2 separate regions of the Homo sapiens genome follow, and region 2 is linked to region 1. The links are contacts of gene promoters, found by promoter capture Hi-C in blood cells and fetal thymus (Javierre and others, 2016). All regions are on one chromosome and are shown on one strand. Each heading gives the region's core, a stretch centred on a gene start or on the middle of the fragment in contact. The rest is flanking DNA. Distances are from core to core; before and after follow the strand shown.

The links. The method cuts DNA at HindIII sites, captures the fragments that hold promoters and counts their contacts. A CHiCAGO score of 5 or more calls a contact.
Region 2: a fragment that was not itself captured here is called in contact with the fragment with the promoter of AHSG in region 1 in 9 of 17 cell types (non-activated CD4 T cells, activated CD4 T cells, total B cells and 6 more); the score reaches 12.6 in non-activated CD4 T cells.

What each region holds. Positions count from the first base shown.
Region 1 is chr3:186,608,918-186,616,770 of GRCh38, reverse strand. AHSG (alpha 2-HS glycoprotein) reads right to left here and starts at 3,711. Exons shown (of 7, transcript NM_001622.4): 1 at 3,417-3,711; 2 at 976-1,086; 3 at 244-328. The coding sequence starts at 3,629. The HindIII fragment of the contact is 5,898 bases long and covers 1-4,896 here.
Region 2 is chr3:185,955,735-185,963,587 of GRCh38, reverse strand. It overlaps the pseudogene NMRAL2P. Among named protein-coding and RNA genes, the nearest start is that of TRA2B, 22 kb to the right of the region's middle. The HindIII fragment of the contact is 4,527 bases long and covers 471-4,997 here.

The DNA.
Region 1 (7,853 bases), core at 2,462-4,961:
CTCGAACTTCTGACTTCAGGTGATCCACCTGCCTCGGGTGGGTGGATTACAGGCGTGAGCCACCGCACCAGGCCAAGAGTAGCTTCTTAAAACACAATTTTAAAAATCCCAGAACCCAGGAAATTTGGCTTCTCCTTTTCCTCACCGACAAAGCTGCTAGAACTACTTAAGTTGAAAATTATTCAGATCCCTTCCCCACTTTCTCTACAAGGAAAAAATGAGAATAAGAATAGTCATCTGTACCTGGACTGGAATCACATTTTGCGTATACCACGGAAAACTTGCCATCTAGTTTCAACAGCTGGAAATCACAGTCTCCTTCGACAGCCTGGAGAAAGAAACCCACGTGAGGATGGCTGCCCTTCCCCTTCGCACCCCGGGCAGGCTCCCTCCAGGCACGGCTGTCAAAGGTGACCCTTGCAAAATCGCCTTTGCTGGGTAATACTGAAACATGGCACTCTCTGCTTTCAGGGATACAACGATATAGTTAAACGCTTGTAAAAATCAGCCCCAGGGCAAGTGGCATCAAATGGCAATTTTATTTATGATGATGATTATTATTATTATTATTTCGAGATAGAGATTCACTGTTGTTGCCCAGGCTGGAGTGCAATGGCAGGATCTTGGCTCACTGCAACCTCCACCTCCCGGGTTCAAGCGATTCTCCTGCCTCAGCCTCCCGAGGAGCTGGGATTTACAGGTGCCCGTCACCACGTCCAGCTAATTTTTGTATTTTTAGTAGAGATGGGGTTTCACCATACTGGCCAGGCTGGTCTTGAACTCCTGACCTCAGGCGATCCACTTGCCTCAGCCTCCCAAAGTGCTGAGATTATAGGCATGAGCCACTGCGCTCGGCCACAAATGGCAATTTTAGAAACTGCACCCTGGCTAGCCAAGAAGGCAGGCTGAGACGCTGGGTGAATCGGTGGAGCTGGCCGAAGGGCCACCTACAGTCATCCTAAGAAGGGTACTCACATGCTCCTTCAGCTGCCTCACGCTGCATCTTGCCACAGGGGTGGGGTCCAGCACATGGCAGGTGGTTTCCAGGGTGTCTATTTCAATCTCAAACAGCTCTCCGGAGGGCTGCTGTGGAGACAAAGAGTGAAGCCGTGAGCAACCTATTCCCCTGATCCTGTGGTGCGGTCCACGGTATGCGCCCTCATTGGGCTTGAGAGCACCCCGCTTTTGGAGAGGTGAGGGAAATGTCATTCTTACTGTCAGTCTGCAACTCCGTCTAGCTCTGAACTGGCCTGTGGGCAGGACAATGACCAGGGCTTGTCTGGTCTTCGTCTGTTGATTAAGGAAGCACCAGATGATGCTCGCAAAGCAGACGGGGTCCTGGGCTTGAACAAGTCGATGGAGCCACAGCCCTCACTCTGAGCTCTATTTGAAAACTACAAATGGGTGTTAACACTTATTTGTATTTATTATTTATTTAATTTTTTAAGATTTCACTCTTCAAGCAGTGCTTTGGAAAATGCAAGTTTGGATTTTTCTCAGACAAGCTGCAAAATAAGGTGGTGTAGGGTAATATCTTACTGTCTTTTTTTAATCTCCTCTATCCCTCCCTCTCCTTCTTTCTTTCTTCCTTTTCATTATTTGCTTTCCTTCCTTCCTCCGTTTTCTTTTCCCTCCTAGAGGTTTTTGCTGCTGTTGTCCTTGGTTTTTCCTTTGTCTTGGCTTGTGCAGCAGGTGCCGGCATGCAACGATGCTGCTCTCTACTTCCCCCTGCTGGCGATAATGGGGAAGGGCATGTCTCCCTCTGACAGGAAACTGGATGTCACTAGTGTAGACACGAGGGAGCTTGCAACAATCCTTGGAGATATTCTTGTGAGTTCACCTGTTTCTGTATCTTGTCTTCGAAGCCTGAAAAATCCAGAAGGTACAAGTATGCCTTTTCTCCTCTCAGCCCAGCTCTGTTTGCCTCTCATTGGTTCTGCCTGATTCACTAGTACCTGAAGCCTCAGCATCCCCTCCCCTGGGAGAAGCTCCGCATTTTATGATGTCCAGGTGTGCCCAGAGTGACTGCCTGAAAGCGTTCACAGCTCTGGCGAACAGGAACCGGGTACACCTGGGTTTCTCAAGGGAACCAACTCTGAAGCTCTGCCTTTAGTAAAAGTCACAATGCCCATTCATGATTACCTTTTCCCTCAGATGTGCGTGTTGCGTGTTCATTTCCCCTGACTTGATCAGCGTTTCCTCCTAACCACCACTGTGCTTTAATATGGCTGCAGCACTCTTAAAATCCATCCGGAGCAATCCTGATTTCAAATATTTTGTCTCTTTGTGAGACGGATGGCAGTCGTCAGTCGGTCCAGGCTTCCTGTTGTTGACCTTATTTTCCAACCTAGATTGTAAGCTCTTGTGGGCACATATTGTGCCTTTTTCACCACTGTATTAGGTTGAACCATTAAAACGGCCAATATTTGGTTGCTTTTGATATAGAAAAATGGCAGTTTTATATGGTTCAACCTAATATCTCTGGTTCTTGTCCAAGGAAGGCTTGTAATACATATTTGCTGAAAGAATTGTCCTTAATCAGAAATAAATCTAATTTCAAAACAGGCAGTAGGCAGACAGCTTCTTTCCACCTCTCCAAATCTCTTGACTGATCCCCGAGGCATATTTCCAGCTTGATTTTTCTTGTCACTGGCTTCAAGCTGCGTTGGTTTCCTGTCTAGTGTGTGAGGAGGTGAATTGTGTTTATGCCAAGACTTCTCTCTGGGATGTGGGTAACTCTCTTTGGGAGGCAGTTTGTGTAGAAGAAGGAACACAGATATGGAATCAAATCCCAGCCTGAAGACTTAGTAATTATATGATTTTGGACCAAAAAAAAAAAGACAAAAACAAAAAACAAAAAAACTGCACACACACACACAACAGAGCCTTGGTCTCCTCTTGGGTAAGACAAGAACAATATATGTACCACACAGCACCAGGAGGCAGGACCGGGAAAGAGTAAATGAGATAATCTATGTGAATGGGCCTGGCATATAGTAGGCATCTGCCAGATGCTAGTTTTATTCATTCTCAGTCTTTGTTAGAGAGAAACCAAACCAAAGACAGATACGTGATTTTCAGCCAGTGGTAACTTGGCAACTAGGAGCTGGTCTCTTGGGTCCTAGTTTTTCCAGCAAGTTACACTTTCTGTCTGTGATCTGCACACTACCATTTGAAGCACTTTTTCTCCTGCACACCACCTCACACCCCACCCAGCTCCCTCCTGACACCCATGACTGCCATACAGAATGTCTCCTCTCCTGCCCTCTGCCTGCCCCTTCCCTCACTCCTGGGAAGAAATCAGAGAATTTACTCCTCTGTGGTTTCATTTGCACTGGGTGATGGTGATTTTTTGAGGCACCTGATTGAGCTCCATGTACACATTATTTCAGCTCATAGACAGCAGGTCCACTTACCTGAGGCCACACCTTTACTTCATCAATCTGGTTCAAGGTGTGTTTGTATCCCCAAGGAAGGTTTTGATTGATGTAGTCTATAGCCACCAGAGCTGCTTCCTCAGTTTCTGGATCATCGCAGTTCGGTTGTCTATAAATCAGCCCTGGGCCATGTGGGGCTGAGTGGCAGCCCCAGAGCTGAGCAAGACAAAGGAGCAGGACGAGGGACTTCATGGCTGCCCCAGAGAGGCCCTGGCAGGCGTGCAGGTGGTTGGAGGCTTCGGGACCAACCCAGGTGCTCTGCTGGGAAAGGTAGACCCATGGAGGGTGGTGGGCTTTATTTATCTGTTGGAGCCTGCCGGAAGAATTGCATAAGGATACAGGATGATTTCTGCTTTGGTTCAAAAGAAAAAAAAAAACACCCTGCAAACATCAGCCCTGGAAAAGCAAACAGGTTAGGACATCGCTGGTCCCCAAGAAATCTGCCAAAGTCCATGCTGCTGTGGGGGAGATGCTCCAAAGTCTGCTTGGAACATGGTAATAGCAGCAAAGAGAAGACAGCTGAGGGAATGAGGTGGACACAGTCAGCCTCAGAGTGCCATGGGTTTGGCAGCAGAGGAAATGTCTTCTACTGTGATCTGAGCATGCCATGGGGTCTGTGAGAGGGAAGGGAGGATACTCAGCAATTTGATAAAATTCTCCAATGTCAGGGGGAGTTAGCTTTCCAAGAGGAGTCCTACAGGGAGAACAAGGCCCACAGATATAGCAAAGGTACAGATGTGTATAGGAGATGCCAAGATTTTGGGGGAAGATTCTTGGAGAAAAGAAAAAGGATGAGAGATGTTTCTGCCTAAAGTGGGGAATGGAGGTGGAAGAAGGGGGTTCCCGTGGCAGGACCACGGTGGGAAATGACCAGCAAAACGTGTGGGGTTCCCTGCCCCTTCTCTTCCTTCTCCAGACCTCACTGCCAGGGCCCTGCATGTGACAGCACAGATGGGCACTGACCAGAGTCTCCTAGCACTAGTAACCTAGTGCCCCTGCCAGTGCACAAGGGCAGCAGAGGGGAGTCCTGACTCATTTGACACAGCTCTGGGTTCGAGTCTGACACCGCAGGCTGAGATGCTGCACGAGCAGCTACGGACACAAATACCCCTTGAACATTCTTTGCAGACTCAGCAGAATTACAGTGTGTCTTTCTGGCCAGAACAGAGGGCCAGTGTTGACTCCAGGCACTGCCTATTAAGTGACCCTTGACAATTCCAAGTGTGACATCCAAGGAGGGTTGGCAGGATAAAGAGAGGCTTGGGAAATATCACACAAGGACCTGGTTTGGTTTAGTCTGAAGCAAAGAAGCCCTCTCATGGAGACCAACATGGTCTTCAAATATTTAGAGGCCATCATTGTGTGTGGGTGAATTTGTTCTAATGTTTGATATTGCTTCAGAGAAAAAAAAACTGGTTAAAAAAAAAAGAAAGAAGAGGGGCCCCTCCAAAGGGAAGCTTAATATTGATTTTCTGGGGTGAGAATCGGGGTGAGGGAGGTGAAGTGAGTGGTGATGGGGCAGAGAAGGTAGTTGGCAGGACTGTTCTCACATTTACTCCCAGCTGCTCACACACCACACCGAATCTTAATGTCAGAAGCTCAGAAGGTGTGGCCAGGACTCCAGGTTCTCTCCAAGAGGGGGACCATGATTCTTCCAGATGAAAAACAAACTCTGGTCATCCAGCAAGATGATCCTCAAAGCCAGGGGCAATCTTCCATCACCTTATACTCCATTTCACTCAGGGCCCTGACTCCTGAACTGTGTGTGGAAGCTATGCTTTTCTTTATATAATCTTTAAAAATATTGAAGGGCTGGGCACGGTGGTTCACACCTGTAATTCCAGCACTTTGGGAGGCTGAGGTGGGCAGATCACGAGGCCTAGAGATTGAGCCCAACCTGACCAACACAGTGAAACCCTGTCTCTTCTAAAAATACAAAAATTAGCTGGGCGTGGTGGCGCGCGCCTGTAGTCCCACCTACTCGGGAGGCCGAGACAGGAGAATCACTTGAACCCAGGAGGTGGAGGTTGCAGTGAGCCAAGATTGCGCCACTGCACTCCAGCCTGGCAACGGAGTGGGACTCCGACTCAAAAAAAAGAAAAATTGAATAAAGTGTGGTAAGGTGGCACACACCTGTAATCCCAACTATGAAGGCAGGATGATAGCATAAGACCTGGAGTAGGCTATGGTTGCAGTGAGCTATGATAGTGCCACTGCACTCCAGCCCAGCCAACAGAATGAGACTCTGTCTCAAAAAAGAAATCATTCACAATCTCATCATGCAGAGATAAACAGTGTTAATGTTTTGATGCATTTATATCTTTTCTTTTTTTCTATGTAAAATAATATTTTAATATAATTTTGATTATACTGCATATACAGCTGTTAAAATTTTTTCACCTATTGCTTTAACTTGAATATTTTCCTATGTCATTAAGTAGACTTAAAAACATGTTTACAGGCCAGGCACGGTGGCTTACACCTGTAATCCCAGCACTTTGGGAGGCCAAGGCAGGTGGATCATGAGGTCAACAGATAGAGAGCATCCTGGCCAACATGGTGAAACCCCATCTCTACTAAAAATACAAAAAATTGGCTGGGCGTGGTGCTGGACGCCTGTAATCTCAGCTACTTGGGAGGCTGAGGCAGGAGAATCACTTGAACCTGGGAGGCAGAGGTTGCAGTGAGGGGAGATTGTGCCACTGCACTCCAGCTTGGGCAACAGAGTGAGACTCTGTCTCAAAACAAAAAACAAAAAAAAACAAAAAAAAAACAAAAAACAAAAAAACAAAAAAACACACTTTTTTATTTAGGAATCTTTGGCTTTTGATTCTTTTTTTCAGGATAGATTTTTAGAAGTAAAATTATTGATTCTAATGATTTGCACATTTTTAAAGCTCTTAATTTTTATAGTCAAATAGTCTATTTGGCTATGCCAATTTATCCCCCTTCCATTTAGCTGTTGTGTGATGTCAGCTCAGCTGTTTTCTCTTTTCCTCTGTTACTGCTTTCATGCTGACTTTTGTGGGAACTTAGATATGTGAACACTCTCAGAATTCTTTTTTAAAAATGTAATTTATGAATATCTTTGCTTTTATCACAGCTACTCCATATGTCTAATACTTATAAACTAAAATAACTTTGGTATCAAGCTGAGTAAAATGATCCCTTAGATTTTTTCAGTTTCCTTAGAAAGAAATGTTGCCATTTACTTACTGGAAATGAGGAAGAAAATAGATGATATTTTGGTATGTTTTCCAAGATGGCTGTAGCATTAGTGCCAATGGGTAGTTCCCTGTGCCTGATGACACCAGTTTTAAACTTTAAAAGATTCTCACTTGCCAAATGTATATGGGACTCATGAGTGATCTTCACGTGCTGAATACATATACTCATGAGTAATCTTGGGTCAGTTTGATCCAACTGGCTCCAGCTTCTTTGCATATCAGTAGGAGATAGGCATTTCCTCCATTTTCTGGTCCTTTGCTGCATTATTTTAGTTACTTTTCTGTGCATTTTTCTATGAGGCTCACATCACAGCAATAAAATAATCCTCATTCCATTCACACTATGATGGCTGATAGTGTATTGAGGATATCAAGGGCTTGTTAGAACTGGTCAAGGAGAGCAGGCCCAACAGTCTAAGGAGCAGGAGAGGATCAACAATCTCCAGGAGATGGCAGCAGGGTGCCGGGCAGTGCTTGCTGGGTGCAACCCTTGTGTGGCTGATGGCAGAAATCTCAAGATGGCAGCTGTCTTAGTCCATCTGTGTTTCTATAAAGAAAAACCTGAGGCTGGGTAATTTATACAGAAAAGAGGTTTATTTGGCTCATGGTTCGCAGGCTGTACAAGAAGCATGACACCGGCATCTGCTTCTGGTGAGGGCTATAGGCTGCTTCCACTCATGGCGGAAGGCAAAGAAGAGCTGGCGTGCGCAAGCTCTTGGTGAGAGAGAGGAGAGATGCCCGGCTTTTTCTTTCTTTCTTTCTTTTTTTAACAACCAGCTCTCACGGAAAATAATATAGCAGGAATTCATTCATTACCACCAGGATGGCACCAAGCCCTTCATGAGGGATCTGTCTCCATGACCCAAACACCTCCCATTAGGCCCCACCTCCAACATTGGGGATTACATTTCAACATGAGACGTGGGGGGACAAACATCCAAAGTAGAGCAGCAGCTAAGGATGGCACCAGGGTTCCTGAATTTGTCAAAAGGACTCTTTGCCAGGGAGCCACTAGGGCAAGTGTTGTATTTAAACTATTCCAAGGCAGAATTCAGTGTTTATAGTTGCAGGCCAGGAGCCACAACAACAAAGATCACCAGGGTCAGAGCTCAGGGTCAGAGTTTCTCAGAGGTTGGTTCCATTAGTGGATGTGGGTATAGGAGGGAGAGGATAGATATAGAAAGATATG
Region 2 (7,853 bases), core at 1,485-3,984, 650 kb after region 1:
TCCGCCGGCCTCGGCCTCCCAAAGTGCTGGGATTACAGGCGTGAGCCACTGCGCCGGGCCTTCACAGTTTTCCTTGACAAGATGATATCAACAGGATTTTGGTGATTAACTGGATGTGGTGATGATGAACAGGGAGGATTGAGAGAGAAAAGTCAAGTGTGACCATTTATTCAAAGAGGTTGAGGGGGCATTTAGCAAGATGTTGATGTTGGAACAGAAGGGTACCGTGAGAAGGTTTTGTAGGCAAGGGAGTCTGAGATGTGGGGTCAAGGAAAGGATGCGTGGCGAAATATAGGGTTGAGACTAATAACCAGAGGGGCTTACATCTTGAGCAGTAATGAAGGAGAATGGGAATGTGATACAAGGTGGTATTAGCTGTCTACAAGGTTTGAAAAATTAATCAGATTTGAAAGATGGTTCTGTTTAAAGGTGGAACATGGAGAGAAGGCAAATGGAGTGTGGAAAAAGCTTCTAAGAGGGAGAATGGAAAAAATCAGAGAGATTTAGAAGACAGAATTAATAGAGTGACTGGCCACTCCCAAAAATCTTATCCAACTGCCTACCCAGTCTCTGGATGCCTAGTTGGCAACTCAAGTTTAATGAGACCAATTCAAGTTTAAGGAGTTCCTGACCTCCTCCTCCCCACTGTCTCCCATATTTCAGTGAATCTCAACTTTATTCTTCCAGTTACTCAAGCCATAAAACTTCAGAGTCATTTTCAACTCTTCCCTTCTTACCCCTGATATCTGGTCCACCAACAAATCCTGCCAACACAACTTTTAAAACCTCCACAGAATCTGACCACTCTCCACAATCTCATTGCTACCACCCTGGTCTAAGCTACTATCATCTCGCCTATTTTATGACAACCACCTCCTAACAGGTCTTCCTGCTTCAGCCCTTATCCCCTATAGTCCCTTCACAAAGCATAAGCTAAAATGATCCTTTTAACACCAAAGTCATGTGATTCCTCTGCTCAAAATCCTTCAGTGTCTGGTATGCTGTTGCAATCCTGCAGTCCCAGCTACTTGGGAGGCTGAGGTGGGAAGATCACTTGAGCCCAGGAGTTTGAGGCTGTGTACTATGATGGCTCCTGGGATGGAGAGTCACTACCCTCCAGCCCAGGCAACACAGTGAGACCCTGTAGCTAAACACAAACACACTGAAAAAACCAAACCCTTCGATCACTTTTCTCTTTCAGGAAAAGCCAACATCTTTACCATCACCCTAACGCTTAATAGAGTCATCCCCCGCTCCATTGCCTCTTCTTCTCCTTTTAATATCATACTTGACTGTTGATTTTTGAGAATTTATTTCACTCTGCTTCCTGCTTTAGCCCTTGACTTCCTCCAGACAAATTCCTGTTCTCATAGAGCTTATATTCTAGTGTGGAAAGACAGGCAGAAATAGAAGAATTGAAGTAAGGAAGGGAGCCAGACATGGGCAGGGTGGAAGCAGAGTTGCAATTTCAAATATAGAGGTCTGGAAAGTCCCCATGGAAAAGGTAACATCTAAGCAGAGACCTGAATGGCATGAGGGGGAAAGCAGTGGGTAACTGTGTTAGTTCTTTCTCACACTGCTGTGAAGAAATACCCAACACTGGGTAATTTATAAAGAAAAGAGGTTTAATTGACTCACAGTTTCACATGGCTAGGGAGGTCTCAGGAAACTTACAATCATGGCGGGAGACACCACTTCACAGGGTGGCAGCAGAGAAAATGAGGGCCCAGTGAAGGGGGAAGCCGCTTGTAAAACCACCAGATCTCATGAGAACGAACTCACTATTGATACGAACAGGAGACAGGGAAATACTGGGTAGAAGAGGGTGGTTCCTGGCAAAGGCCCCACCCTTAAGCCTGGATACCTGCTGCCCTAAGTAATAGGCATTCCTGTTTTTGCACCCCAAAAGTTGCCTTCTGGCCTGCCACCACCCCTATCCTGTATCCATATAAGCCCCAAACCCCAGGCTCCAGAAGCAGACTAGGAGACAAGGAGACAAACAGATGGCAGAATGGTGCAGCAGAGGAGAGAAGAGAAGGAACGTCAGGAGGAGTTTGGCTGAGGATGTTCGGAGAATCAGCCACTGGACAGCCAAACTCCAGGGCAAGATCATATTTCTACTCCATCCCCTGTCTAGCTCCCCAACCATCCCACTGAGAGCCACTTCCACCACTCAATAAAACCCCTGCATTCATCCTTCAAGTCCATGTGTGACCTGATTCTTCTGGGATGCTGGATGAGGGCTTGGGATACAGAAAGTTGTCACACTAGCCCCCTCCTTTTGCAAAAAGGCAGAGGGTTCACTGAGCTGGTTAACCCTTAAGCCATCTGTGGATGGCAAGGCTAAAAGAGTGCACTGTAACACATGCACACTTGGGCTTTGAAAGTTACAGACACCCACCCCTAGATGCTGCCATAGGGCTGGAGCCCAAAAGCACTTGCCCCAGTTCCTGCACCTACCGGTATGCATGCTCCCCATCTCTTAAAGAGTTTGAGCTTGCAGTGGCAGAACAGAGAGCCACACCCCTGTGGCACACCCTGTGGTGGGGGACCAGGACCAGGGAACTCTCTCTTTTCACTATCATGAGAACAGGCTGGGGGAACCGCCCCCAGCATTCATTTATCTCCACCTGGTCACTCGTATGACATGTAGGGATTGTGGGAACTACAATTCAAGATGAGATTTGGGTGGGGACACAGTCAAATTATATCAGTAACAGAGGGAGATCATTCTAGGTTGAAGAAGCAGCCAATACAAAGGCCAGAGCCTTTGTATTTGTGGGATTGTTTTGGAGGAACAGCAAGAAAGCCAGGGTAATGAAGCGGAGTGAGAGGAGGGTGGCAGGAAGAGAGTTCTGACACAACATTTCCAAGGCCCTGTTGCAGGGCATTAGCAGGACTTTGCACTTTACTGGGAGTGCCATGGGGCTGGGATCTTTTAGAGGGTTTTGAGCAGAGGCCTGACATGATCTGACAGTTTCAAATGGATCCTTGGGAGGCTGAAATGAGAATAGATTGAAGGAGAAAAACCTGATTTGATTTATATTGTGCAAAGATGGCTCTGACTGTTGAGGAACAAACTGTAAGGGAGCCAGGAATGCAAACTTCCCACACACTCCATCCTTGCAGACTCCCTGGAAGATTGGTCAGGCATTGGATATTCACTACAAACCCCCAGGCCCCTCACACTTGTACCTTTTGCTTATTAGGAAGTGAGTGGAGAGAAGACTTCAGAGTATAGCTTATGTTGAAATGAGACTTATACCAACCAGTTAGCCCCATGACTGGGAAAGGGAGATTACGTCAGTGTCCTTGTCCTGCTGAGATCAAGTTACAAATCAAATCATGCCACCCCTTTACCACATCAAGAACTAAAGCAATAGGATACTTTAAAAAATTTCTTCCAAAGAGCTCTTTGTTCAGCCCACACTTGCAGGCTCTAAAGTTACAAACAGGAAGACAGGAGAGTGAGCAAAGTCAGCATGCCCTAAAAATTAAAGACTTTTTACCTGTTGCTCCAAACACTGTAATTACTTTCTTGCTGGCCATGTTATCAGGAAAAGAGAGAGTCAGTGGAGTAACAGAACTTTCCCTGGAGCAGCGACACCAGCCGAAATGCTGTGTTTCTTCTCTGGTGAGAATTATAAACCCATTCCAATTACCACGCCTTTTATTGTGCCCCTCCTTGTTCCTGTTACCACTAGTCCACTTACTCACTGTGACACTGCAATTTTCAATTTTCTTTTTTTCTTTTTCTTTTCTTCTTCTTTTTTTTTTTTTTTTTTTTTTTGAGATGGAGTTTTGTTCTTGTTACCCAGGCTTGAGTGCAATGTCACAGTCACAGCTCACTGCAATCTCCACCCACTGGGTTCAAAGGATTCTCCTGCCTCAGCCTTCCAAGTAGCTGGGATTACAGGCACGTGCCACTATGCCTGGCTAATTTTTTTTTTTTTTTTTTTTTTTTGTATTTTTAGTAGAGACGAGGGGATTTCACCATGTTGGCCAGGCTGGTCTCGAACTCCTGACCTCAGGTGGTCCGCCCACCTTGGCCTCCCAAAATGCTGGGATTACAGGCATGAGCCACTGCACTCAGCCAACACTGCTGTTTTCTTTCTTTCTTTCTTTCTTTCTTTCTTTTTAATGGAGTTTCACTCTTGTTGCCCAAACTGGAGTGCAGTGGCGCAATCTCAACTCACCGCAACCTCTGCCTCCCGGGTTCAAGCAATTCTCCTGCCTCAGCCTCCCAAGTAGCTGGGATTACAGGCATGCACTATCACACCCAGCTAATTTTGTATTTTTAGTAGAAGTGGGGTTTCACCATGTTGTTCAGGCTGGTCTCGAACTCCCAACCTCAGGTGATCCACCCACCTCGGCCTCCCAAAGTGCTGGGATTACAGGCATGAACCACTGCACCTGGGCTGACACTGCAATTTTCTAAATGAAGACTGATTCACTCACATATTTATTTGTTCAGCAAATGTGCATTGAGTGCCTTTGGTATACAAGGCATTGAACTAGATGTCCTGGTGATGTGGCTCTTGTAAGGGGGCTAAGCTCATAAATAAATAAAACTGTAGTACAGGGCAATGGCAAAGGAAACTCAAGGGACCTAAGTCATGGAGGAGAAGCACAAAACCCAGAATTAGGGAAGGTTTTCTCAGAGGAGATAATGCTGCAGTTGGCCTGAAGACCCAACATGAGTCATTTATTCAGGGAGTGTAGGGAGAGAAACCATCGCAGGCAGGAAAAACTTCACACAGCCAAGCCCAAAGGCAGGGCAATGATCCCACAGGGTCATGATGGCTGCAGCAATGCTATGTGAGCAGCAGGAAATAAGACGGAAGGAGAGCAAAGGCCCAGAACACAAAGGGCATGCTAGGCATGGTGAGGAGCTTGGCTTATCCCAACAGCCACAGCAGTATTATGAGATCTTCTGGCAGCAGAGTAGTGGCTGGGTTGAAATAAGACAATGCTGGAAGCAGGGACAGTCCTAAGCTTATCCTGAAGAAATGACATAGGTGAGAAACACTAAAGGCTTGAACAGAGGCAGCGTCAGGAGTTGTATTGTGTCCTCCCTCCACCAACAAAATCCATGGTGAAGTCCTCATCCCCAGTACCTCAGAATGTGACCTCATTTGGAGATAGGGTTCTTTTTTTTTTTTTTTTTTTGAGACAGAGTCTTGCTCTGTTGCCCAGGCTGGAGTGCAGTGGTGCAATTTTGGCTCACTGCAACCTCTGCCTCCCAGGTTCAAGTGATTCTCCTGCTTCAGCCTCCCAAGCAGCTGGGCATACAGGTGTGCACCACCACACCTGGCTAATTTTTTGCATTTTTGATAGAGACAGGGTTTCACCATGTTGGCCAGGCTGGTCTTGAACTCCTGCCCTCAAGTTATCCGCCCGCCTCGGCCTCCCAAACTGCTGGGATTACAGGCGTGAGCCACCATGCCTGGCCTGGAGATAGGATCTTTACAAAGCTAATCAAGGTAAAATGAAATAATTAGGGTGGGTCCCAATCCAATATGACTGGTATCCTTGGTAAAAGGGGAAATTGAGACACAGATAGGTACTGGGGAAAGGCAATGTGAAGATACAGGGAGAACACCTATGATCATGAAGCTGGCTATCTACCAGCCAAGGAGAAAGGGCTGAAGCAGAGCCTTCCTTCGTAGCCCCCAGAAGGAACCAACCCCGCCAACACCTCGACTTCCAACCAACAAGAGACAATGGGACAATACGTTTCTGTTACTTACGCCACTAACTTGGCGGTACTTTGTTATGGCAGCCATAGCAAATTATTACAGGTGGTGACAATGGGAGTAAAGTGAAAGAAATTTAAGAGGTAAACTGAGAAGGTCTTCATGATTGATTGGATGTGGAGAAAGGGAAAGTAAGGAAGAAAAAGGGCTAAAAAAATGACTCTGCCAACTGGATGGGGAATGGTGAGCAGGAGCAGGGGTCACGGGGAATGACTTCAGAGTTGGACTGGTTGGAATTGAAACTACATCTTGGGAGGTGAGGAGGTGAAGAATACAAGTGCAGATGCCTCCTTTGAAGAGCCCTGCCATGAAGGAAGGACAAGTGAACTGTGGTTACAAGATAAAGTGGAATTTTTTTTTGAGACGGAGTCTTGCTCTGTTGCCCGGGCTGGAGTGCAGTGGCATGATCTCAGCTCACTGCAACCCTGCCCCCTGGGTTCAAGTGATTCTCCCACCTCAACCTCCCGAGTAGCTAGGACTACAGGCATGCACCACCATTCCCAGCTAATTTTTGTATTTTTTGTAGAGACGGGGTTTTGCCACGTTGCCCAGGCTGGTCTCAAACTTCTGAGATCAAGTGATCCTCCTGCCTCAGCCTCCCGAAGTGCTGGGATTACAAATGTGAGCCACCAGGCCTGGCCCTGTAATTATTTTAATAGGAAAGATATGAACATGTTTCTGAATTCTGCCTCCACGCCCTTCAGCTTTCTCAGGAACCTAACTCCACCAATCATATATTCATAATAGCATATGAATGGAATTGAAAATAGCAGTTGAGGCCAGGCGCGGTGGTTCACGCCTTTAATCCCAGCACTTTGGGAGTCCGAGGCGGGCGGATCACAAGGTCAGGAGATTGAGACCATCCTGGCTAACACGGTGAAACCCTGTCTCTACCAAAAATAAAAAGAAATTAACCGTGCATGGTGGCGGACGCCTGTAGTCCCAGCTACTCGGGAGGCTGAGGCAGGAGAATGACATGAACCCAGGAGGTGGAGCTGGCAGTGAGCCCAGATCGCGCCACTGCACTCCAGCCTGGGTGACAGAGCGAGACTCCGTCTCAAAAAAAAAAAAAAGAAAATAGCAGTTGAAATAGAATGGCATATGAATGGACTATAATAGCATATGGATGGAAACTGAAAATAGCGGTTACCTAAATGATACCTCAGCTTTGTTGCCAAACAGAAATGAATACAGACCCAAAACAGGGGCAAATCATGGATCTACAGCCCCTCTGCCCTTTACCTGTCCCTCTACTCTTTCATTTACATCTCCTGCTCCTGCCCGATTATTCTCCCAAGAGGAAGCAATTCTAAGTTCCCTCCTCCACAATTGTAAACCGCAATGAAACTGAGAGGTAAATTCTGGAGTTGTAAAGATTAAAAGAGTTGGTTATACACAAGTGTTCATTTCTTGAGGGCAAAGTTGCAGTGGCTGGCCTGGACAAGCTACATCCAGAGGGCCCAGGTAAGTGGGAAACTGTATGTTCTCATTTCCAAGATGAAGATACTAATGGAATAAAGCGAGATATGTCACAAGAAAGATATATAGTGCCTCTGCTACCCTAAACTACAAGTCCCACACTAACCATACAGGGAATTTTCAGTCCCATTCAAAGCAGAGGCGCAAAAGAGACAAAGATTTACATCCAAGGTAGTTTATCCACAGCATTATTTGTATTGACAAGAACTGCAGATAAGCTAAATATCAACCATTAGGGGGTTAGTTAAATAAATTGTGGTAGAGCCATAAGACAGAATGATAGAGATCTCCATTAAAAATTACATTTTGCAGGAATTTTTATAAAGTGAGAAATGCTCACAATGCAAAGTCATACAGAATCAATGACATAGGAGTTAAAAAGAAATTACTTAGGCAGATAGTGAGGATAAGGAAGTCCTTAGTAATGTTTTCCCTTTAATGAAAAGCAGCCCCAACATCATTTTCTTCTCTAACAAAGAGCAGCCTGTAAAATCAAGCTGCAGACATAGACAAGCAAGCTGGAAACTTGCACAGGTGAATGTCGCCAGTCGTGCCAATAGGAAAAGGCTACCTGGGACTACGCATGATCAAAATGGCAGATCCATCTTCCCTTCTCTT